Regions from separate parts of the Homo sapiens genome. Here region 1 is linked to region 2. Evidence: promoter capture Hi-C in 16 types of primary human blood cells and fetal thymus (Javierre and others, 2016). All regions are on one chromosome and are shown on one strand. The core of a region is centred on a gene start or on the middle of the fragment in contact, and the rest is flanking DNA. Distances in the headings are between cores, read along the strand shown. Region 1 holds the start of KRTAP13-2 (keratin associated protein 13-2). Region 2 has its middle 37 kb from the start of KRTAP19-8.

Evidence for each region. Contacts are between HindIII fragments. The CHiCAGO score rates a contact against its expected background, and 5 or more counts as called.
Region 1: a contact is called between the fragment with the promoter of KRTAP13-2 here and a fragment that was not itself captured in region 2, in 4 of 17 cell types (activated CD4 T cells, naive CD8 T cells, naive CD4 T cells and 1 more). The highest score is 9.6, in activated CD4 T cells.

Annotation. Positions count from the first base shown.
Region 1 is chr21:30,367,852-30,374,314 of GRCh38, reverse strand. KRTAP13-2 (keratin associated protein 13-2) reads left to right here and starts at 2,044. Exons shown (of 1, transcript NM_181621.4): 1 at 2,044-2,925. The coding sequence starts at 2,102. The coding sequence ends at 2,629. The HindIII fragment of the contact is 2,756 bases long and covers 1,226-3,981 here.
Region 2 is chr21:31,071,895-31,078,224 of GRCh38, reverse strand. No RefSeq gene overlaps it. Among named protein-coding and RNA genes, the nearest start is that of KRTAP19-8, 37 kb to the right of the region's middle. The HindIII fragment of the contact is 5,615 bases long and covers 1-4,141 here.

The DNA of each region.
Region 1 (6,463 bases), core at 795-3,294, 700 kb after region 2:
AATATCACGTTTTCCCTGACATATCAAGATAGTGAATTTTTCTTTCTATACTAATACTTTGCCTGTGTATGTAGAGTACGTAGAGTATTTTATTAGTTCCAGAATCCACTTTTGAACTGTTAAGGCTACTCTAGTTTTGTTCTGCTTTTTCTGCCTTTCAGATGGACACATTTATTAGCATTTGGGAGTTGTTCATTAGCATTTGTACAAAGTGCACAAATAACTCCTAATAAAAAGTGTTAACCCAATTAGGAATGGGTGGAGGGACTGTTAATTGGAACTGACTTACTCCCAAGTTATTTTAGTGTTTATTCCCAGACATAGGGAGCTGGTCTAGAAAGGCAAGAACTTTTGGATATTAGTAAGTTTTTTGTTTTCTTTTTTTTGAGCAGAATCAACCTGTAGTAAGAAAAGAAAAATATTTCTCATTTTAAAGGTGTTAAAAGCTGCCATTATAAGGAATCCCATGTGTTGGGGGTGGTGCATACTTTTTGGTGAATTTAATAGGTGTCCATTCATAAAGCACAGCTTATTTTACTTCAGTGAATCAGAGTGATGGTTTAAGTATTGCACAAGGGCACTTCATGTGATGCATGCCACACTTTGGATTCTGCATGGGAGAGATAATCATAAAACAAAGTAACTAAGTGCTCTGAAACAGTGTGCTTTGGAATGAAGGAAGTTAATTTTCAGGTAGTTAAGAGGCTCTCTTTTCGATAACCATTGTGAATGCCATTTCCCTTAGTTAAACCAAATAAAATGTCAAATTCAAAAGAAGAAGAATAGACACAGATAAGAAGCCTCTTCCCCCCATTAATCTAAACATGGATTACCAATATTCTTTCTCTTTCTTGGGCTAGGAAGTGAAATATACTTCAAATGTATGAAGATCAGTAAGGCATAGAATTCCCCAGTTGAACACTATTCAGTGTGAATATTGTTAGGAAAAGTAAATAAGGCTTTGTTAGGCTTTTATATCTTAGTATAAATAAGCTTAATAGTTTCTTTTCTGAGACAAGTTAAAGTTGAATTTACTTTTATATTTGCAAGGTATTTGCAACTTGACTCTGAATAAGAAAACCATAATTAAAGCTTCAATTTTGCTTCTATCTTACTGAGAAATTAGGGGAAAGTTAAAGCTCTCTGAGAGGTAATTTTTCCATGTATGGGTTGAACAGGGGATGTTTAAAGACCCATATAACTCTAATACTTCAAGTTAAAAGCTTCAGAAAAATGTTAACAATTCCTCAAAGTTTAAGTATAAATTAATAATTGCAGCTAAGAATCTGTCCTTTTATCCAGAAAAAAAAATTGAAACATAAAACAAAATAAAATTTATGAGTTGATTTAGAGCATAACCATAGAATAGTGCTTGCTACAAGATAGGTTCATCAGAAAATATCTGAAAAACTTCAATTTAAAGTCTTACTAAAAAGTTTGTGTTTATTGTTTCCTAAGTGAGCATTGTCTAAAGTAGCCTCTTGTTAAGGAAGATGCCTGATATGGACACCCAACATAATGCTGCACTCCTCAGTTCTGATCCTGAGCTCTTAAGGTACTAGTAAAAGGTTTAACTGACAGATTGCTGAGGCTACTGAATACAGTTAGTATTTGGAGAAATCCTCCGTTTCTGGTAACAAATAATATGCTTGTGTTAAAAAGAAGGACAATCTATTTTGAGTAGTAACCACTGATGCTCCTGATAACTTAAGGGAAGTAAAGAAAGAATTTTGTGTAATTCCATTTGGTACAATAAGGACTCACTGTACTCAAATAATAAGAGGCAAGATACTCATAAATGTGATGACATATAACATTGAAGGTCAAACCACAGTGAATTCCAGGAAAAAAAAAAACTGAGTGGCTTCCTTCTAAGTGTTCCAGAGTGACTAAAGTACAAGTAAGTATATGAAGATGTGATAAATTAAACAATAACCTAGGGAAGCATTCTTATAATAAAAAGTGAGCAAGGAGAAGGGAGTGTCGAGACAGTGGACACACCCAGGTCTAAGAGCATATATAACTTGGAGTCCAGACTATGACATTCAAACTCAGAGAATCTTTCCACTATAACTCAGCTGAACTCACATCTCCCGTCAACATGTCCTACAACTGCTGCTCTGGAAACTTCTCCTCCCGCTCCTGTGGTGACTACCTGCGCTACCCAGCATCCTCACGTGGCTTTTCCTACCCCAGCAATCTGGTCTACAGCACTGACCTCTGCTCTCCCAGCACCTGCCAGCTGGGTTCCTCTCTCTATAGGGGCTGTCAGGAGATCTGCTGGGAGCCCACCAGCTGCCAGACGTCCTATGTGGAGTCCAGCCCCTGCCAGACCTCCTGCTACCGCCCCAGAACCTCCTTGCTCTGCAGTCCTTGCAAGACGACTTACTCTGGGTCTCTAGGCTTTGGATCCAGCAGCTGCCGCTCCCTGGGCTATGGATCGAGGAGCTGCTACTCAGTGGGCTGTGGGTCCAGTGGTGTCAGATCCCTGGGTTATGGAAGCTGTGGCTTCCCTTCCCTCGGCTATGGATCTGGATTCTGCCGCCCAACCTACTTGGCTTCTAGGAGCTGCCAGTCTCCTTGTTACAGACCAGCCTATGGATCAACCTTCTGCAGATCAACTTGCTGAATTTCCAGACCTTTTAAGCAAAGTGTCTCAGTCTCTACGTAGAGCTGTTATCATAGGCATTTCCAGCAATGTGAGCTAACCCCTCTTACTACTAGCTCTTCATCCTTTCTCTGGCATCAAGTACTGGCTGGACAGGCTAGTTCTTTCAGACTGTGAAATTAATGAATGAGCAAAATATAGAGTCAAATGTCTATAATTTTGAAACAAGTGATTCGTTATCACGTAAGTTCATCTTATAAAGTATATGGAAGTTCAGTTTTGTTTCACGTAATAAATTCATTTACTGTTGATTCCAATATGTTCTCTTTGTCTTTTATTGGTTTCCAAAGTTTGATTTGTGATCTGTTTTGGGGGCTCCAGGCCCCCAGACGTCTTTTCCTTGGACATCCATTTCCATCGGTAATGTCATCAGGCCTAGTGTGTGGGGAGATTCTCCGGGCATGCCAGTGCCTAAAAGACTGAGCAAGTGCATGTCTTCTGCCATGAAAACTGGTTGGATTCTTAACAGAATTATTGAGAGTACACTCATAATGGTGGTGTGTTTTCAAGGAAGACACATTTTGCTGACAATCATATTTGCTTTTTGTTTACATTTTTAAAAGAGTATTTAGAGTTTTCTCAGAAGATGTCAACTAGGTGATTAAATATAAAATTATGAAATATTTGAATAAATCTGAAATGTTATGATGGAAAAGGGAAAATATGAAATGTTAGGTACTGGAGGACATTACGGTTGTGTTTAAATATAGGAGAAAATTAATTATTCAGTGTGTGTGTGTGTTTGTGTTGTGTGTGTGTGAGAAAGAGAGAGAGAGCACAGAAGACAGAAAGACTTAAGGTTTACAACTGTGAGTAATGGAAACAGTTATAGGGAGAAATACTTTGGCTTGTTTTAAATGTATATTTATAAATCATAAATTTATAGAACTATTATGACCTTTGTGTTTTCTTTGGATTATTGAGTTTATCAACAAGGAAAAAGATATTACTTTTCAGTGATTTCTGCATTGAGTGGCAGTTAAAATTAGATTACTTTCAATGTTCTAGATTTTATAACCTCCCTCAGTATCCTTGGAATCCACTGCTCAGCTGTGACAGTGTGAATAAAAATAAATATTTGTAGGATGCTATTCACATCTGAGATATAAGACCTTCTCTATTTATTTTAATTTAAGCAAGTGATTTCTTTCAGAGGCTAAAGGTAGTGTAAAAGTTCAGCTAAAACTTTTTCATAAAATATTCAATAACAACTCTCCATGAATGGGAAAACAACTTTGAAAGATTATCATTTCCTCCAATAATATGTCACGAGCTTTAATTGATTTTTTTCCCTGACACCTTTCCCTTAAGCTTTTTATAATTAAACCTGAAAAAAGAGGGTATCTTTTCTCTTATAATGGAGACAATACGGGCTAAGCATGGAAGTGTGGGAACCACATCCTCTGATCATAGAAACCTGCCGCCACAGAAACTAGAAGAATAGAGAAGGGAAACACGGGAAGAAACTCCTGGCAACACAGAAGCCTCTGATTCCCATGTACCTTAAGCCAGCTTTATTCATCCTTTAAGTGCTTTGATCATATGGGTCAATAAAGTCTTCTTTAGGTTTAAACTAAATAAAATAATTGAAATAAAATAAGACTTCTGGCACTCTCATACAAAGATTTACAATACTGGCAAACCAAATCAAGCAACACATCAAAAAGCTTATCCACCATGATCAAGTGGGCTTCATCCCTGGGATGCAAGGCTGGTTCAACACACACAAATCAATAAACGTAATCCAGCATATAAACAGAAGCAAAGACAAAAACCACATGATTATTTCAATAGATGCAGAAAAGGCCTTTGACAAAATTCAACAACCCTTCATGCTAAAAATTCTCAGTAAATTAGGTATTGATGGGACTTATCTCAAAATAATAAGAGCTATTTATGGCAAACCCACAGCCAATGTCATACTGAATGGGCAAAAACTGGAAGCATTCCCTTTGAAAACTGGCACAAGACAGGGATAACCTCTCTCACCACTCCTATTCAACATAGTGTTGGAAGTTCTGGCCAGGGCAATCACGCAGGAGAAGGAAATAAAGCGTATTCAATTAGGAAAAGAGGAAGTCAAATTGTCCCTGTTTGCAGATGACATGACTGTATGTCTAGAAAACCCCATCGTCTCAGCCCAAAATCTCCTTAAGCTGATAAGCAACTTCAGCAAAGTCTCAGGATACAAAATCAATGTGCAAAAATCACAAGCATTCCTATACACCAATAACAGACTAACAGGGAGCCAAATCATGAGTGAACTCCCCTTCACAATTGCTACAAAGGAATAAAATACCTAGGAATAAAACTGACAAGGAATGTGAAGGACCTCTTCAAGGAGAACTACAAACCACTGCTAAATGAAATAAAAGAGGATACAAACAAATGGAAGAACATTCCATGCTCATGGGTAGGAAGAATCAATATCGTGAAAATGGCCATACTGCCCAAGGTAATTTATAGATTCAATGCCATCCCAATCAAGCTACCAATGACTTTCTTCACAGAATTGGAAAACACTACTTTAAAGTTCATATGGAACCAAAAAAGAGCCTGCATTGCCAAGTCAATCCTAAGCCAAAAGAACAAAGCTGGAAGCATCATGCTACCTGACTTCAAACTATACCACAAGGCTACAGTAACCAAAACAGCATGGTACCAGTACCAAAACAGAGATATAGATCAGTGGAATGGAACAGAGCCCTCAGAAATAATGTCACATATCTACAACTATCTGATCTTTGACAAACCTGAGAAAAACAAGCAACGGGGAAAGGATTCCCTATTTAGTAAATGTTGCTGGGAAAACTGGCTAGCCATATGTAGAAAGCTGAAACTGGATCCCTTCCTTACACCTTACACAAAAATTAATTCAAGATGGATTAAAGACTTAAATGTTAGACCTAAAATCATAAAAACCCTAGAAGAAAACCTAGTCAATACCATTCAGGACATAGGCATGGGCAAGGACTTCATGTCTAAAACACCAAAAGCAATGGCAACAAAAGCCAAAATTGACAAATGGGATCTAATTAAACAAAAGAGCTTCTGCACAGCAAAAGAAACTACCATCAGAGTGAACAGGCAACCTACAGAATGGGAGAAAATTTTTGCAATCTACTCATCTGACAAAGGGCTAATATCCAGAATCTACAAAGAACTCCAACAAATTTATGAGAAAAAAAACAAACAACCCCATCAAAAAGTGGGCGAAGGATATGAACAGACACTTCTCAAAAGAAGACATTTATGCAGCCAACAGACACATGAAAAAATGCTCATCATCACTGGCCATCAGAGAAATGCAAATCAAAACCACAATGAGATACCATCTCACACCAGTTAGAATGGCAATCATTAAAAAGTCAGGAAACAACAGGTGCTGGAGAGGATGTGGAGAAATAGGAACACTTTTACACTGTTGGTGGGACAGTAAACTAGTTCAACCATTGTGGAAGACAGTGTGGTGATTCCTCAGGGATCTAGAACTAGAAATACCATTTGACCCAGCCATCCCATTACTGGGTATATACCCGCAGGATTATAAATCATGCTGCTATAAAGACACATGCACACATATATTTATTGCGGCACTATTCACAATAGCAAAGACTTGGAACCAACCCAAATGTCCAACAATGATAGACTGGATTAAGAAAATGTGGCACATATACACCATGGAATACTATGCAGCCATAAAAAATGATGAGTTCATGTCCTTTGTAGGGACATGGAGGAAGCTGGAAACCATCATTCTCAGCAAACTATCGCAAGGACAAAAAACCAAACACC
Region 2 (6,330 bases), core at 85-2,584:
CTAGAGGCTCCAGAAGATATTCCATCCATTGCCCCTCTGGCTTCTGGTTGCTGTCGGCATTCTTGGGTGTGTGGTTGCATCTCTCCAATCTCCACCTCCATGGTTACATTGCTTCCTCCTATTCTCTGTGTCTTCCCCTCTTCTGTCTCAAATTTCCCTTTGCCCTTTGTTTATAAGGACACTTGTCATTGAAGTTAGGGCCCACCTAATTATCCAGGATCATCTTATCTCAAGATTCTTAATCACAACTGCAAACATACTTCTCCCCAATAAATTAACATTTAAAGGTTTTGGGAATTAGGATGGGAACGTATCTTTTTCATTTTTATTCATTTTTTTGAGACACGGTTTCCCTCTGTCACCCAAGCTGGAGTGCAGTGGTGTGACCATAGCTCAGTGTAGGCTCGAACTTTTGGGCTCAAGAGATCCTCCTGCCTCAGCCTCCCTAGCAGCTAGTACTATAAGCATGCAGCATCACATTCAGCTAGTTTTTTTTTTTTTTTTGTAGAGATGGGGTCTTGCTGTGTTGCCCAGGTTGGTCTTGAATTCCTGGGCTCAAATGATCCTCTCACGTTGGCTTCCTAAAATGCTGGGACTACTGGCATGAGCCACCACACGTGACCCTATTTTTGGGGACCACCATTCCACCTATTATACTATAACAGGATATGTATAAATGTTCTCCTGAAATTCTCTCTAGGTCTTGAATATTTTTCTCTGGTTGCTTAAGCTCTAATTTAAGTCATGTTTTCAGAGCCAATTTCTCCAGCAGACCTGTAAAAGATCTAAACTCTACTTTGAATTCTCAAATGGAGGTGAGGGGCAAGACTTGAAGGAAGTGAGAGGAACTGATTTGGAACTGTGATTGCTGAGGAGGGGAAGAAGGGCATGAGGGCAGGTGGGGAGCAGACTCCAGAGAGTGCAGTTTACTGGCTCCTAAGAGAGGCTGTTGCTTGAGACCATTCCTCACAGACCCTGCCTCGCCCATAGGCTGACAGTAAGAAACCACGTGTGATAACCTTTTCAGAGTCTCCAGGGAAATTTAGCTTTCTGTAACAGCACAAAGCTCATACAAACCCATCTCCTATAAGTGTTTGCATATAGGGTTGCATATTTCATTTATAATAAATTAGATTTTTTCTCATCCCAGGTAGGAAATCATTTCCTAAGAGTTGCTAATCTTACCGAATGAAAGATAATTCATGAGCTTCATGTTTATCTGGTGAATATAATAACATATTGCAAAGAAACAGGTCTTCTGCATTTCATTTTCATGCAGCCACTAGTTTTGGGCCCAACTGTGCTCTGCTCATGGCTGTGATCACCGTAGCTGCTTCTCCCAGCACCCGGTGGTCTGTGATAATTAGCAAGTGCACCTGGAAAGTTCTAGAACTGCTTGGAAATGGAAGTGCCAAGTGATATGATTCTGCGACTACAAAGGATATGTGAGGATTAAGGCAGGGCTGGTCCTGAGCCCTCATGCACTCTGTCTTTGGGAGAGTCACAGCGAGTTGAAAGTTTCACACTAGTCTATAGCCTTTGGGTGAGCCAGGTCTCATGGTGAGAGCTTTGCACAATCAGTGCAGAAGGACAAATAGGGAATGTAGTTCCCCTCAGTTGCACTGGGCCACCTGTGATATGCTCGTGGAAGAGCCCCGGGGTTGTCTTCACCCTTCCTGCCATCTTGTCAACTTTCAAGTTTTCAGGGTCACCAGGGCCTCTGTCTTCTACATGGAAGACAGAAGTCTGATTATCTTTCCATTGGTCTCTGCCTTCGTTCTTCATGCCACCAGCAGGATTATCTTCTGAAACTTTATACACAAGTCATTCCTCAGTAGATAACCCTTCCCTGCTTGCCTCATTGTCACCAAATAATGTTCCAACTCGACAGCCCAGCTCTGAAGACCCTCCTGGGTCTGGGGGTTATCTACCCCTTAAAAATATATTTTTCTTTTCTCCTTAATGAGCCGTCAACTCTTCCACATCTTTAGCTCTTTTTGCTACTTTGAATGACCTCCACTAAACTGTATTGTCAGCTTCCTTATTAGTTGAATGGGAATGACATCCTTAACTCTCCCAGACAGAGCGGTTGATTAAATGGACTATTTAATGGAAAGTTTCTAGGACAGCACCTGATGCACTTATGTGATTACAGCGTGATTACGCAACCTCCATCTTTGGGAATTACTTATTACAAGCTCTCCCTCATAGCTTAGCTTGAGAGCTGCTGCTTCTCTGATGCTGTCGTTGTCCCCTCAGCTTTGGGAGATTTTTTTCCCACTGAAATTCAAAGCACTTCATCGCCATGGCATAATTTGGTGTTATGTACAAGTTACTGTGTGCTTGGGTTTGGTATCGGGTCCAATTTTATGTGCCTCTCAGTGCCCCATGTTACATCTTTTCTTTCCCATAAGTCTTGAACCATAACTTCCTCTGTGGCAAGGGCTCTCTGGGCAGCTGTGCCCCTGGCTCACTTCCTACACATCACAGAGCTCACTGTGACTATGCAATGTGGCTGTTGTGACCTCCACTGTGCTCATGGATGTAGAACCACAGCATATCCAGCACTAAAGTGATAGAGTCTTGGTCCTGTGGCCAAGAAGAAGCAAGATGGAAGCCCAGCTAGTTTCCCTGGGGATGAATTGTCTTAACTAAGTTCCTGGGGCCTTGAATGTAGTAGCTAAAGACAGACCAGGGGGGTTTGAGGTCCCATGCTTCCATCAAGGTCTGTCCTGCAAAGGCATCCCTAGAGACAGTGGATCAGTTGAGTTTGAACTTGGAGTTAGCTAAGACCAGGCTCACAGGGCTCTGGCCTTCCTACTCCTTTAGAACTGAGATAAAGACTGTGTTCAGGGAGTGATGTCTGGTTTCCCAATGGCTTCCCAGAGCGACCAGGTAACACAACTTATATGAACTTGGACTGATGAGAATGGGAGACAAGAACAAGCCTACAGATCAATTGCTCTCCTTCCCTCCCCATGTGGTTCTAGTTTCCGGGTAGCATCTGGAGGCTGTCCATGTGATAGGCACGATATACTTGATTTTGAAGATGTGCCCAGCTGGGAGAGGATACCCTTCTATTTGCTATGTTTTGCCACTCTACTGTCCTTTCCTCCACTCCAGATTCCAGTGTGTTGCACTCCTCAGGAAAACCGGATGCAAGCGTTGCCTAAGTTTTTGCTTCCTAAGGAAGCATGCCCTGAAAATTTTTATCTACCATCTCTCTTTTTCCTCCTCTCCTCCCTTTCCTTTCCCTCTCATTTCCTCTTCTCCTCTGGTCTTCTCTGTTTTTCTTTCTTCTCCTCTGTTACTTATTTTGTTCAAAAACCAAATCATAGAAATTTGATTTTTCTAGGGAAGGCTCCCACATTGCTTCACTCTGAGGCTAAAGCCCTAAGGAATCATGGGGGCAGTAGCCTTCTGAGTGGGATTCAGGATGCTGAGCTTGATAAAATATTCTTTTTCATTTTTAGAGACAGAGTGTTCCTCTGTGGCCCAGGCTGGAGTGCAGTGGCATGATCATAGCTCACTGCAGCCTCAAACTCCTGGGCTCAAGCAGTCCTCCTGCCTCAGCCTCCCAAATATCTGGGATTACAGATGCTGGAGCTTGACAAAATAAACGTGGGTACACCCCAATTTTAAGTGATCCTCTGGTTTTAACTTCGTTTCCTTTATAAAAGAGGTTCCCATAACCACCTATCACATATAAAAATTATTTGATTAATACATTTCAGTTGGCGATGAACTTTGTAGTTGCAGCCGCAGTGTAAGAAGTCAAGGGAGAGGCTGGCCACAGAGGAGAAGACATGTACCCGCTCTCCCCTGGAAGGTGGGGGTAGTGGCATCTTTCCTTTGCTCTGTTTTTATCTCTCTGATGGGAGCAATGTGAAAAATTCTAAAAATCCTCTATCAGCACTGGGGAGCTTCACAAATGTCTGACATTGCCACATAGTCATTTGTGTGTTTGTGTGTGTGTGTGTGTGTGTGTGTGTGTGTGTTTGTGGTGGGGGAGTGGTGGTAGGTAGAACAATGGCCCCCAAATGTCCACATCCTAATTCCTGAAATCTGCAAATATGTTACCTAACATGGCAAAAGGGAGTTTGCAGATGAGATTAAGTTAAGGGTCTTGAGATGGGAAGCTTTATTGGATTACTGTGGTTGCCTGTAATCACAATTGTCCTTATTAAGAGGGAGGCAAAAGTGTCTGAGTCACAGAGAGAGATTTGAAGATGCTACCCTGCTGGCTTTGAAGATGGAGGGAGGGGCTATGAGCCAATGAATGCAGGCCACCTTTAGGAGTTGAGAAAGGCCAGGAACCAGATTCTCCCCTCCAGCCTTCAGAATGAACTTAGCCCTACACCTAGACACCTAGCCCTCCTGACACCTAGATTTTAGTCCAGTTAGACTTTAGACTTACAGAACTATAGGACAATAATTCTGTGTCAGTTTAAGCCACTAAGTTTGTGGTAATTTGTTGCAGTAGCAATAGAAAACTAATATGGGGGGTGTTGAAATACAACTTTTGAGTTACTTGTAGTTAATTAGTTAAGTATAGTTATTTGTTGATCTCCTCTGTGGCGGGCACAAAGGTGATTCTTTCCCCTTGGAGCCTGCAGTCTGGGAAGCAATTATTCTAGCGAGTTCTACTGTGCATAGCTGTATTAAATTGCCTGTTTTACTTGTTGGGCAGGATATTTTGGTTAGGATATTTCTTTTTCTCCATGTGATTTTTTTTTTTCACTAAGAAGTCATTTCTAATTTAAACCATTGAGCACTTTACATTTATTATGTGGAAGGCATGATAAATGGTTGCTAGGGAGATAATTCTCTTCAAGGGGTTTCCAATCTATTAGTAAAATTAGAAAGAGTTTAAAATAGACAACTAACTCTACAAGGTGGTGTATGATTTTTAATAGGATGGGATTCGGCCAGAAGCAGAACCCAGGACTCCCTGAATCTCCCTTCAGCTTCCAGCCTCTATCCTAGATAGATGCCATGTACAGAACCCTGCAGGTGTAAGGAATTCTTTATTACCTATGGACCTAGTTTCTCTGGAGACTCCAACCCTGCTGCTAGTCTGAATCATGCCCAGCTTCAAGGGCTCTCTGTATCCCTGTAAATTTAGACTTAGACTAGAGGTAGATCAAGGTTACACCAAATGCTGATCTTGACCTGATAAATTTTACTTATAGCCTACGCCACACACAAGAGAAGAAAATCCTTTTAAATCTTTTTAAAAACAGACTATTCACCTCATTTTTATTCCTCCAGCTAAACATCTTCTTCCTGTGCCCTGTCAGCTCTGTGCCCTAATTGTACCTCTGTTCTTCAAAATATCCCCGGACCATCTGGCAGGGTCCAAGGATATTTTTTATAGATTGTCTAAACAGGAGGAGAGAAGCCTTGGGATTTGCCTCGAGGTCAGAGTGTGTGACCAGCTATGCTAAGTGCCTCAAGAGACTCTTGCAATTTCAGGGGATTCATGGGTCCCAGGAGAGGGATGTACCATGAGGTCAGTGGGTCACAGAACCTTTCATGGAGGGAATGACATGTGCCTCAAAGGACATGGACGATTTAATTGAACAGAGGGGAGGGAGCGTTTTCCAGGTAGGGGCCTGGGATAAAGTGGAAAGTAGGAATCTGTAGTGTTTAGGGTCCAGAACCTATTTAGAACTGACTTCATGCTTGCAATTCTAGTTATCTGATTTGAGTCTTTCTCAAAATATGACTGGTATTTATTTATAGGATAGTGCTGTAGCCAACGTTCTTGGAGTGAAAGTGATTGTATTGAGAAATCTGGGAAACTCGGCAGGGATATATATTCTTAATCCTTTTTAATTAGAAGCCCCTGAGGAGACACAGCTGTCTGAGCCCTCTATTCACCTGCAGATTAAATGAGACAGGTATTAATTGACAATTTCTCTTGTCCTTGGTTAAGAAGCCTATCTCATAGAAGAACATAATGAAACATCTGCAAGATGGTATGCATTGCAGTAGTTTACTCTGATTACGCTGTGAGTGTGTACAGAGAAAAAGAAGCACCACAAGGTAATGTAGACGGGCCTCAATCCCAGGAATTTATTATTTGAGCAATCTGTAGTAAAACTTGCTCCTAATAGTGAGAGTAGATGGTACCTTTTTAAAAACAATTTGCAAATTTTTCTTTTTTGCACATTTTGAATTAAACCCCAATAAATTTGTCTGCACTGGGTATGGAAGAGCATGGAATGGCTGAGCATAAGTTGTCATGGTCTTAGGTACAATGTTCAGTAACTGGTTCATTAAAAATTGACACAGAGTCCTTGAGTGGGAAATTCCATGAATTGTGGA